Linked DNA regions of Homo sapiens: region 2 is linked to region 1. Evidence: promoter capture Hi-C in 16 types of primary human blood cells and fetal thymus (Javierre and others, 2016). All regions are on one chromosome and are shown on one strand. The core of a region is centred on a gene start or on the middle of the fragment in contact, and the rest is flanking DNA. Distances in the headings are between cores, read along the strand shown. Region 1 holds the start of CA5A (carbonic anhydrase 5A). Region 2 overlaps ZFPM1 (zinc finger protein, FOG family member 1).

Region 1 (5,347 bases), core at 2,381-4,880:
GACTGAGAGTTACACCCTCAGCTTCCCTGGTTCTGAGGCCTTCGGACTTGGACTGAGCCATGCTACCAGCACCCCAGGGTCTCCAGCTTGCAGTGGCCTGTCCTGGAACTTCTCAGCCTCCATAGTCATATGGGCCAATTCCCCTAATTAATGTCCTCTCATTCATCTATCTATCTATCTATCTATCTATCTATCGATCTACCTATCATTTATCTCTTTATTTCTATCTATCACCTACCTGAGGCGGGAGAATAGGGAATGAGGGTAACCCAGGTTTAAGGCAGAAGCAAAAGAGCAGCAGGAGCAGCCGGTTCCAGGCAAGATTGGGCGGCACACGGGCCACAGTCTCACTACTGCGGTAACAGAACAGAAGCCTCCACTTCTGCCTCTGATTGGTCAGGGGCCAATCCTTCATAGGATGTAACCAATTGGAGCCCTCTAAAGGGCACCTGGGGGTGTTACCAAATTCTTTTAGCTTAATAAAAACCCTGAAGAACATGGTAATCAGGGTTCTTGAGCCACTTGCTTGTTCTTTTCTTGCTTTGTTTGTGTGTTTTGCTCAATTCTTTAACACACCAAGAACCTGGACAACTCGAAGTTAAGACTTTCCATCTGGTAACATGTCTACCTGTCATCTATCATCTAGCTCTCATCTACCTACCATCTATCTACCTACCAATCATCTTTCTTCATCTATCCATTATCTACCATCTATCTACCTATCTATCTACCTATCTATTGTCTGTCATCTGTCTACCTATCTAGCTATCATCTCTCTCTAATCTATCATCTATCTATCTATCTATCATCTCTTTCTCTCTCTCTTTCTCTAATCTATCTATCTGTTTGTCTATCCCATTGGTTCTGTCTCTCTGGAGAACCCTGATTAATACACTGGGGCTGGTGATATTTTGTAAGTAAAGCAGAGTCCTGCCATGGGGCAGCAGGGAGATGAGGAAGACAGGGAGACCCCCAGCCCACGGGTACTGCTGCAACGCAGTCAACCTAAACTGGGCAGGCTGAAGAGGGCAGGACGGCTGAGGATGGCAGAGGACATGCCCCAGGAGCCTGTGGGGCATCATCGGCTGCCCAGGTGAGTGTACTCAGGAGATGCCCCTGCTCACATGGGGCTGGCAATGCCTGGGGTGGGAGCTTGGCCTGCAGCAATGAAAGTGCCGCTCTAAGGACATCACTTGTGTCAACAACAGCTCGACAGAGTGTTATCGTGTATGATGGAATCCTAGAATCTTCCCTACTTTACAGATGAGGAAATGGAGGCAAAAGCCAATGAATTAATGAGTGAATGAATGAATGAGTGAATGAGTGAATGAATGAGTGAATGAGTGAATGAGTGAGTGAATGAATAAGTGAGTGAATGAGTGAGTGAATGAATGAATGAATGAGTGAATGAATGATTGACTGAGTGAGAGAATGAATGAGTGAGTGAATGAATGAGTGAGTGAGTGAATGAGTGAGTGAGTCAATGAGTGAGTGAGTGAGTCAATGAATGAGTGAGTGGGTCAATGAATGAATGACAATGAATCAGACTTCCCAAGAGTGGGTGCATTTCCACCATGACTGTGTGGGAAGGAGAGAACATATCATCCAGACTTGGTTTTTGTTGCTCAAAACAAATGCAAGCAAACTCTTGGGCCCACCAGAGCAGTGGCCGAAAGCCGCAGACCCTATCCATTGTGTGGGGGATTTCAGTGGGATTCTTGGGCTTTCAGGAGCCTACAAGTGGACTCGCATTTCAACACCTGTGTTCTGTAGGGTTTTCTAGATCTAAGATTCCAGGATTCTATGAAAAGTTATGATAGCCCTGCCCCCTAAAAGATTGTAAGTTTAAACAACAACAAGAAGTCACAAACTGGTGCATCCCAATCCCATGGGTTCCATTTCACAGGTAAAAGGTGTCTGGGTGAATAAACTGCTGTGCCGCTCAAAGGACCCAAAGGAAGGTTCTTTGTGGGTTGGCGTCTGCAAATATCACCAGCTGCCTGGCTAGAGTGACCAGCTAACATACCCATGTGGACCCTGGGCATGAAGGGAGGTACCAGGCCAGGGGCAGTGGCTCATGCCTGTAATCCGAGCACTTTGGGAGGCCACTCTGGGAGGATTGCTTGAGCCCAGGAGTTCAAGACCAGCCTGGGCAACATGGCGAGAACCTGCCTCTACAAATAATTTTTAAAATTAGCTGGACATAATGGCATGCACCTATAGTCCCAGCTACTTGGGAGGCTGAGGAGGGAGGATCACTTGAGCCTGGGTGATTGAGACTGCAGTGAGCCATGATGGCACCACCGCACTCCACCTTGGGTGACAGAGCAAGACCTCACCTCAAAAAAAAAAAAAAAAAGAAAGAAAGAAAGAAAGAAAGAAAGAAAGAAAAGAAAAGAGGCTGGACGCAGTGGCTCATGCCTGTAATCCTAGCACTTTAGGAGGCCGAGGTGGGTGGATTGCCTGAGCTCAGGAGTTCGAGACCAGCTTGGGGAACACAGTGAAACCCCGTCTCTACTAAAAATACAAAAAATTGGCCGTTGTGGTGGTGTGTGCCTATAATCCCAGCTACTCAGGAGGCTGAGACAGGAGAATTGCTTAAACCTGGGAGGCAAAGGTTGCAGTGAGGCAGGATCACGCCATTGCACTCCAGCCTGGGCAACAGAGCGAGACTCCATCTCAAAAAAAGAAAGAAAGAAAAGAAAAGAAACGAAGAAAAGAGGCTGGGCGTAGTGGCTCACACTTGTAATCCCAGCACTTTGGGAGGCCGAGGCAGGCAGATCACCTGAGGTCAGGAGTTCAACACCAGCCTGGCCAACGTGGTGAAACCCCATCTCTACTAAAAATACAAAAAATTAGCTGGGCATGGTGGTGGGCGCCTGTAATCCCAGCTACTCAGGAGGCTGAGGCAGGAGAATTGCTTGAACCTGGGAGGCAGAGGTAGCAGTGAGCCGAGATCACGCCATTGCACTCTAGCCTGGGCAACAGAAGTGAAACTCTGTCTAAAAAAAAAAAGAAAAGGAAAGAAAGAAAGGTGGCCCTGTTAATGTTTATGCCAAGACAGCAGGCATGACCTGGAAGTGTCCGAAGCCACAGGGCATCTTGCTTCCGGGGAGGATGAATGAATCAAATCGCACCTATTTTAAGGCAAGCAAGGACTCCATGACTTCAGGAGCCCTGGTGGGTGGACAGAAGCTCCCTGCTCCCCTGGCCTGTCTACCCAGCAGCGCTTTGGCCAGTCCCATTCCTGTACTTCTGAGCCTGCCTGCCAGTCCCTCCTCACATGCACACCATGGCTTTGTGCCTGGTATTGAGTGTCCCGGAGCCCCAAACCACACGGTCAACCCCATGAAAGAAACAGGGACTCTGCTCTCATCCACTCGCCCCCGCCTCCCGCGTAATCCCCTGGTGCTCACGCAGCCCCACCGTACAGTTTTTCTAGCTCCCTGGCAGACTTGTGCTCCTGTTTGCCAGATCAAAGCCCAGTGACCTGAGTGGCCTGTCCCCAGCAGAGGCCACTAATCCCTGTGGACCCACCCTGTTGGGAAAGGCATGGGTTGAACTTTAACCATTAGGCTCAGGGGTTGGGATGAGTTTCTACAAAAAGAGGTGGGTACACGCCAGTCCACAGTGGTCCTGATCAAAGTGAGAACAGACAGCAGGGAACATCACCCTCTTCAGACTGGAGTCAGTGGGAACAGACCCAAGATGTTGGGGAGGAACACTTGGAAGACCTCAGCTTTCTCCTTCTTGGTTGAGCAGATGTGGGCCCCTCTCTGGAGTCGTTCGATGAGGCCAGGGCGATGGTGTTCTCAGCGTTCCTGTGCATGGCAAACCAGCAATAACACTTGTAAGTAGAGCCTCAAATTTCCTAAGATGCGACTGGATCCTTGTCTTAGCTGATGGGGTCTTTCGAGAGGAGAGAGGAGAGACCGTCCCGAGCCAGATGGGTTCAGATTTCCACTCCGTTTTTTTTTTTTTTTTTTTAAGATGGCGTCTCGCTCTGTGGCCCAGGCTGGAGTACAGTGGCGTGATCTCAGCTCACCACAACCTCCACTTCCCGGGTTCAAGCGATTCTCCTGCCTCAGCTTCCTGAGTAGCTGGGACTATAGGTGCATGCCACCACTCCTGGCTAATTTTTCGTATTTTTAGTAGAGACAGGGTTTCACTGTGTTAGCCAGGTTGGTCTCGAACTCCTAACCTCGCGATCCGCCTGTCTCAGCCTCCCAAAGTGCTGGGATTGCAGGCATCAGCCACGGCGCCCGGCCCTCTTTTTTCTTTTTTTGATGAAGTTTTGCTCTTTTGCCCAGGCTAGAGTGCAATGGCATGATCTCGGCTCACTGCAACCTCTGCCCTCCAGGTTCAAGTGATTCTCCTGCCTCAGCCTCCAAAGTAACTGGGACTACAGGCACCCGCCACTGCACCCAGCTAATTTTTTGTATTTTGGTAGAGATGGGGTTTCACCATGTTGGCCAGGCTGGTCTCGAACTCCTGACCTCAGGTGATCCACCCACCTTGGCCTCCCAAAGTGCTAGGATTACAGGCGTGAGCCACCGCGCCTGGCCACACTCCGTTTCTCTTGTATTTGGTGACCTTGGGTGAATCATTTAGCCTCCGTTTCAGGGGTCCTGGGGAGGGCAAGATGCTGGGAGCAGGCGGGTAGTCCGTGTTCGCACGGGACACACTGGCACGACTCACCATCCAGACCCGGCGGAATGGGCTGCACTAACCAGTCACGATCGCTCCTAAACTCTTCGGCAGAGAACGCTTTCAAGCAAACCTGTAACAAATAAACCACTCAGCCAGCTCTGCCAAGAAACTGCCCCGTGCCAGCCCCTCCTGGCTTCATGGTCAGTGCCTTGTGACCTTGAACGAGGCCCTTCCTCTTTCTGGGTCTCAGGTGCTTCCTCCGTAGAATGAGAGCCTGCTTTGGCAGCTGCCAAGTTCTCTTCTAACTGAAATCTTCCATGCATTCCATGTTTGGGCCATTGAAAGAGCATGGGCTTAGGAGCCAGACCCCAGGCATGCAGTCCGACTGACGCTTGCTGAGGTGGAGCCTCGGCAGGTCTTCACCCCCAAGCCTCTGTGTCCTTATCTCGAGATGGGGGTGGCCAGACTTTCTCTCCAGGGCCATGGAAGGATGACACGATGCGTGTAGAAAGCCTGGCCCACCCCAGACTCTGAGTGAGCTACACTCATTCCTCCTGTTGGGGTCCACACCTGTGGACTGGAGTGCAGTGGTGCGATCTCGGCTCACTGCAGCCTCTGCCTCCTGGGTTCAAGCGATCCTCTTGACTCAGCCTCCCAAGTAGCTGGGACTACAGGCGTGTGCCACCACGCCCAACTA
Region 2 (5,108 bases), core at 1,276-3,775, 590 kb before region 1:
TTCCTGCAGCCACCCGCAGGGGGCAGCCTCAGCCCACAAAGCCCAGGCTGCGCGGGGCCGGCTTGTTCACCTGGGGCGCCCGGGCTGTGTGTCCCCTGCGGTGCCGCCCTCAGGCCTGAGCCGGCCCGCTCACGCGCACCACAGCCTGTCCCCACCCTGCACTGGGGCCAGGGACTCCACTGGCCAGTGGACCTGCCTAAGCCCAGAGGGCCTCCCGCTTCATCCCCGGGTGCTCGGAGGTGCAGGCCACCCAGACGTGCCACCCTCAGTAGCAGCAGCACGGCAAGGCCCCTCGACTTCCTGGACGGCCACCTTGACCGTTCCTGGAGCCAGCCTGACGACATGGAGGATGGTCCAGTGGCACCTGCCAGCCAGTCTGGTGTCGGGGTCCCTGCTGCTGCCCTTGGTGGGTTCCCAGAGGTGCAGCCAAGGCAGGGAGGAGATACGGGGATCACGGTGTCCCCCAGAGGGGCAGAATCCTCCCCCACCCCCCCGCCACGGACACCTGTCCTGGCTCAGCCTGCCAGTCGGGACCCTCATACAGGGACTCATGGTCTGGGCTGACTGGTCCCAGTAGAGTGTCTGCCTCATGCTGCAGCGCCCGGGGCCAGCAGCTCCCTGTGCCCCATCCCCTGCCCTAGCAGGCTGGTTTCCCTTTAAGGGCTCAGCCCAGGGGGAGCCAAGTGACCCCCACCTTCCGGAAGGCTTGGGACGGAGGTGCCGCGTCATACTGACCCTTCCTGTGGATCTCTGTGTTGGCCTCGGCCTCAGTCAGGGCCTGGGGCAGCGTCCTCAGCCAGCAGGCCTCGTCCACCAGCAGCAGGGTCAGGGCTGGGCTCTGGGGGGGGAGGGTAGGAACACGTGGGGAGGGGTCCGTCAGCAGCCTGCCTGGGGGTTCCCGTGAGTATGTGGGGCATCTGTGACACGGATCTGCCTCCCGGCTTGGCTGGTAGGCCAAGCTGTGGACAGTCATTGGCCCAAGAGCTGGCAGAGGTGTGGCATGGGCCATCTGTGCCATAGTTGACCGGTGGGGCTAACACCGTGCTGGGGCTGGGAGGCTTGGCAGGGAGTAGTACCTTCCAGGGTTGGGCGCAGGGTTCTTGTGGAGACTGAGGCCCAAAGAGGTCGAGCAACATGCTCCAGGTCACACAGCCAGGGAGCAGCAGAGCCTGAACTCACACCCGGGTCTGCGTATCTGTGTTCTCCCCACTGCTCGCCCACCCTTGCCCCCAGAGTGCTGGGTGTGAAACCGCTGTTCCCACAGGGGCTGGACCTGGTAGAGGCTCCTTCCACACAGGCCCTAGATGCCTCCAGAATGACCTCTGTGGGCTGGGGCCGAGATTAGCCCAGAAGATACGGCACTTCCCTAGCAACCCTCGGGCCTCAGTGTCCTCCTGACAGCATGGCTCCCCTCCCTGCCACAGGGCGTGGCAGGGCCACCTGCGTTCCCGCTCGCTCCCGGGGCCGGCACACGGCGGACGCTGGGGAGCACCTGGTGGACTCAGCAGGTCTGTCCCCACCCTGAGGCTGGTCAGGCCCCTTCCTGTGGGCCTGAGACACCAGCACTGTGTTGGATCGGCCCTGGCCCCCCTGGCCTCACTGTCACCCTGGAAAGCAGGCAGTACCCTCCTCTCCATCTCATGGGTGAGGAAACTGAGGCCTGGGAAGGGGAGGGACAGAGCTCATGCCAGTGCCTCGGGCCATGCCATGCTGTCGGCGGTGGCTCAGGCTAAGTCTGGAAGGAAAACACTCTGGGCCGAGCCCGTGGAGGCCGCCTCGTTTCCTGCATCCATTGCACCCCGGCCCCCAGCTGAATGGCAGAGGAAATGCGAGGGGCCCCATCCCAGTGCAGTCGGGGGCTGGGACAGGGCGAGGTGGGGCGGGCAGTCCATGGCCTCGCTCTGTGGTGCCCAACACTGGTCAGACATCAAGGGGAGAAAATGGTGACGGAGGAAGGGGTGACCGCCGCTGCCCCTCAGGCCTCGGTCCCTCCTGCAAGGCTGACTCAGCCTCAGTGCCCTGACCCTCAGCCCTGTGCTGCTCACTGCACTGGTGGTCCCCAAGCTTAGCCACCTGGGTGTCCAATCTGGAGGCACAGCATACACGCGTGCTCCAGCACTTCCTGTAAACACACTTTTTGTTCTATACAAATGAATGCCTTTTAATCAGAAACTTCCTGCACCATGACCTTTGCCTGAAAAGCCAGTGTCACCTACAAATGCTGCCGCTGGCCCGGGACAGGTTTGTGCAGCCCTGTGGTGAGGATGGCAGTCAGCCCAACCCTGCCATGGTACAAGGGGTCGGGCTGGTGACAGTGCAGGGATGTCCCCTGTGGGTCTGGGGTACCTCCCCACTAGGTGCCAGCCCATGAGCTTTCCTGGACTTTGCCAGCACGCGTGGGACCCTGTGGGCCGCAGAGGTGGGCAGTGGGGTCCCAGCCAGGCTCGGCCTCCCTGCTGCGACCTTGGGCAGGGCACGACCAGACCCGTATGCAGGGACCCCTCTGGGCCACCCCTGCCTCTTGGCCCATCCGCAGGGCACTCAGGAATCTAGCAAGATACAGCCTTTGGGCTGGGACGTTCAGTGACTACTCAGGCAAGGTTCAGGCGGGCTGGCCAGCAGAGCAGGTGGCTTCCACGTCACCTGCCTGCTACCACACGGCTCAGCCACAGAACGGGTGAGCAGAGCTAAGCTGGCCAGTGGGGTGGGTGCCCTGGCTGGGGTGGGTGCAACCCTGCAGTCCCAGTGTGAAGCCGTCCCCAGCAGCCACCCCAACCCCTGGCTCAGGTTCTCCTCTGCAGACGGGGCTCTGCCCTCTCCCCACATGGCTGTTGGGGGGACAGAGGGGCGGCCGAGCCCCTGCTCACTCTGGACCCACCCGAAGCCCACCATTAGCCTTTGGGGCAGTCTCAGGGGGGTCAGTCCTATCTCCTTTGACTCAGTTTCCTCCCGGTATGTTGGGAGGCCATGATCTGTGTGAAGCTTTTTGCCTGCCTGGCAGGTTCCCAGCACAGGATGCATATTAGCTCCAGCCCTGGCTGTTGCTTTTGGGTTGACCTGGCAGGACAAAGTGGGCATGGGGTGCCGTCCACAGGGCATGTCCGGGGCAGCACATGCTGAGTGTCCACTGTGGTGAGTGGCTGCCCCGAGAAAGGTGCTTTGTGCAGGCTGGCATCGGGTGGGTGCCCCCCTTTTAAAGGACACCCCCGTGATTCCCAGGGCCGCAGAGCAGGGCTCAGGAACTGCACGCCAGCTGTGGGGCTCTGCCGGCTCCGATGGGGGCTTCTGCTGGGGCAGGCTGGGGGGTAAACCCCAGGGGCAATGGGCAGGCACATTCCTGGCACAAAGGTGGGTGACCGGCGGCTACTGTGTCCCGGCTGCTCCCGAGCCAGGCGGGCAGCGCTCGGCGAGGCTGCTGGGGCCTGGCCCTCCCCACCCTGGCCTTCCTGAGCCTCTAATGAATATTAATGAGCAGAGGAGGGTGAAAAAAATTAATCTGCTTGATCCTCCGATGGGTGCTGCGGTAACGATATGAAATCTAATTATTCGTCCCAATATTTCTAAACCCTCAAACTGAGACTGACAGCCTGCCGGCCGGTTTAATGCTTATCACTCCCAGGAGCAGCGTGTTCCCAGCATGATAAAAACACGCGCCGCAACTGTGCTGACGCTGCACGCACCCCCGATTTTTCTGTGGCGGTCCCGAGTGGAGGGCAGGCGCCATGTTCCCGCCCGGCCCCGCCGAGTGCACCCCGCGTATGTGGGGCGCGACGGGGCGCCTGGCCTGGCTGTGCGGGTGGGGAGGGGCAGGGGGAAGGAGGGTGAGGCTCCCATCCGGCACCCGCCCCCGACCCGGGAGGGAACAGGTAGGAGACCTAGGGGTGCAAGATAAGCAGCTCCGGCCACCCTGCCACGGCCCCCACTGCCAAACACTCTCAGAGGGGCCTGCCGCTCCTACTTCTGCGACCACAGGCTGGGAAGGGGTGAGGGCCTCCCTGCCAGTCTGCCCTGGCTGCTGAGGATGCAGGGGCCACCCTGACACCTCTCAGGGGACAGGTGAGCACAGCCTCGCCTGGGGCCACCAGGGTCCCCAGCCTGGAGGTGGCATGGACACGGCCAGCCCTGAACCAGGGTCTTGCCCGGTGCCAAGTGGCCGGACCCCTGAAGCCAGCCCGGGGCCACCCGCCCATCCTGGGAGCCACTGCTGGGGCCGCGGCCAGGAGACGCTGGGGCAGGAAGCCAATTTCAGCTTCTGCTTCCCTTGCGGAGGGGCTGGCCGGGCACGGGTCTGCCTGTTGATTTTTTTCTGTCTCTTCTTGTTTCCCCACCTCTGATCAGCCTGGAACAGAAGCCCTTTCTCTGGTGCTGCAGGCCCTTCCTGACCCTGCTCTGCCTGTGGGCACTGGGGAGCAAGGGGGAAGGGGGCCTATTTTTTTTTTTTTTTTGAGATGAAGTCTCACTCTTGTCCCCCAGCCTGGAGTGCGATGGCATGATCTCGGCTCACTGCAACCTCCACCTCCGGGGTTCAAGCAATTCTCCTGCCTCAGCCTCCCGAGTAGCTGGGATTACAGGCAAGCACCACCACACCCAGCTAATTTTTGTAGTTTAAGTAGGGACGGGGTTTCACTATGTTGGGCAGACTGGTCTTGAACTGCTGACCTCAGGTGATCTGCCCGCCTTGGCCTCCCAAAGTGCTGGGATTACAGGCGTGAACCACCGCGCCTGGCCTTGGGAGGGGGCCTATTTTTAACTTCCAAACCAGGCCCTTCTGCCAAGACTCTCAGAGATGTGGGTGCTGCGGCCATCTTCCCTCCCAGGGTGCCACAGGCTCGGCACCCAGCCTGGTCAGGCAGGTGTGTCCAGGGTCCACGGAGGACGCTAGAGCCCACCCTGTTTGCCGCCCCTTGGGGTTGCCCTGTCCCTCCTCTGGGCCCTGGCCGGCCCCACCAGCAGTGGCCACTTTAAATTCCCCGGGCGGACCTGAGAATGTTCCTTGTTTCCCCCAACAAAGAGGTCAGTGTCTTGATTCTGCGGTGGCACCGATAGCCATCGGAAACCCTATCTGTGCAGCATCCGCTGTGACAACTTTATCTGAGGCCGTTCCCAAA

Evidence for each region. Contacts are between HindIII fragments. The CHiCAGO score rates a contact against its expected background, and 5 or more counts as called.
Region 2: a contact is called between a fragment that was not itself captured here and the fragment with the promoter of CA5A in region 1, in 10 of 17 cell types (endothelial precursors, total B cells, fetal thymus and 7 more). The highest score is 11.1, in endothelial precursors.

What each region holds. Positions count from the first base shown.
Region 1 is chr16:87,934,812-87,940,158 of GRCh38, reverse strand. CA5A (carbonic anhydrase 5A) reads left to right here and starts at 3,630. Exons shown (of 7, transcript NM_001739.2): 1 at 3,630-3,850. The coding sequence starts at 3,709. The HindIII fragment of the contact is 28,449 bases long and covers 1-5,347 here.
Region 2 is chr16:88,522,544-88,527,651 of GRCh38, reverse strand. ZFPM1 (zinc finger protein, FOG family member 1) reads right to left here. Exons shown (of 10, transcript NM_153813.3): 5 at 736-838. All of the region lies in intron 2 of ZFPM1-AS1 (ZFPM1 antisense RNA 1), which reads left to right. Among named protein-coding and RNA genes, the nearest start is that of ZFPM1-AS1, 6.0 kb to the left of the region's middle. RefSeq lists enhancers at 1-49, 50-790, 1,018-1,604, 1,605-2,192 and a silencer at 16-145. The HindIII fragment of the contact is 918 bases long and covers 2,067-2,984 here.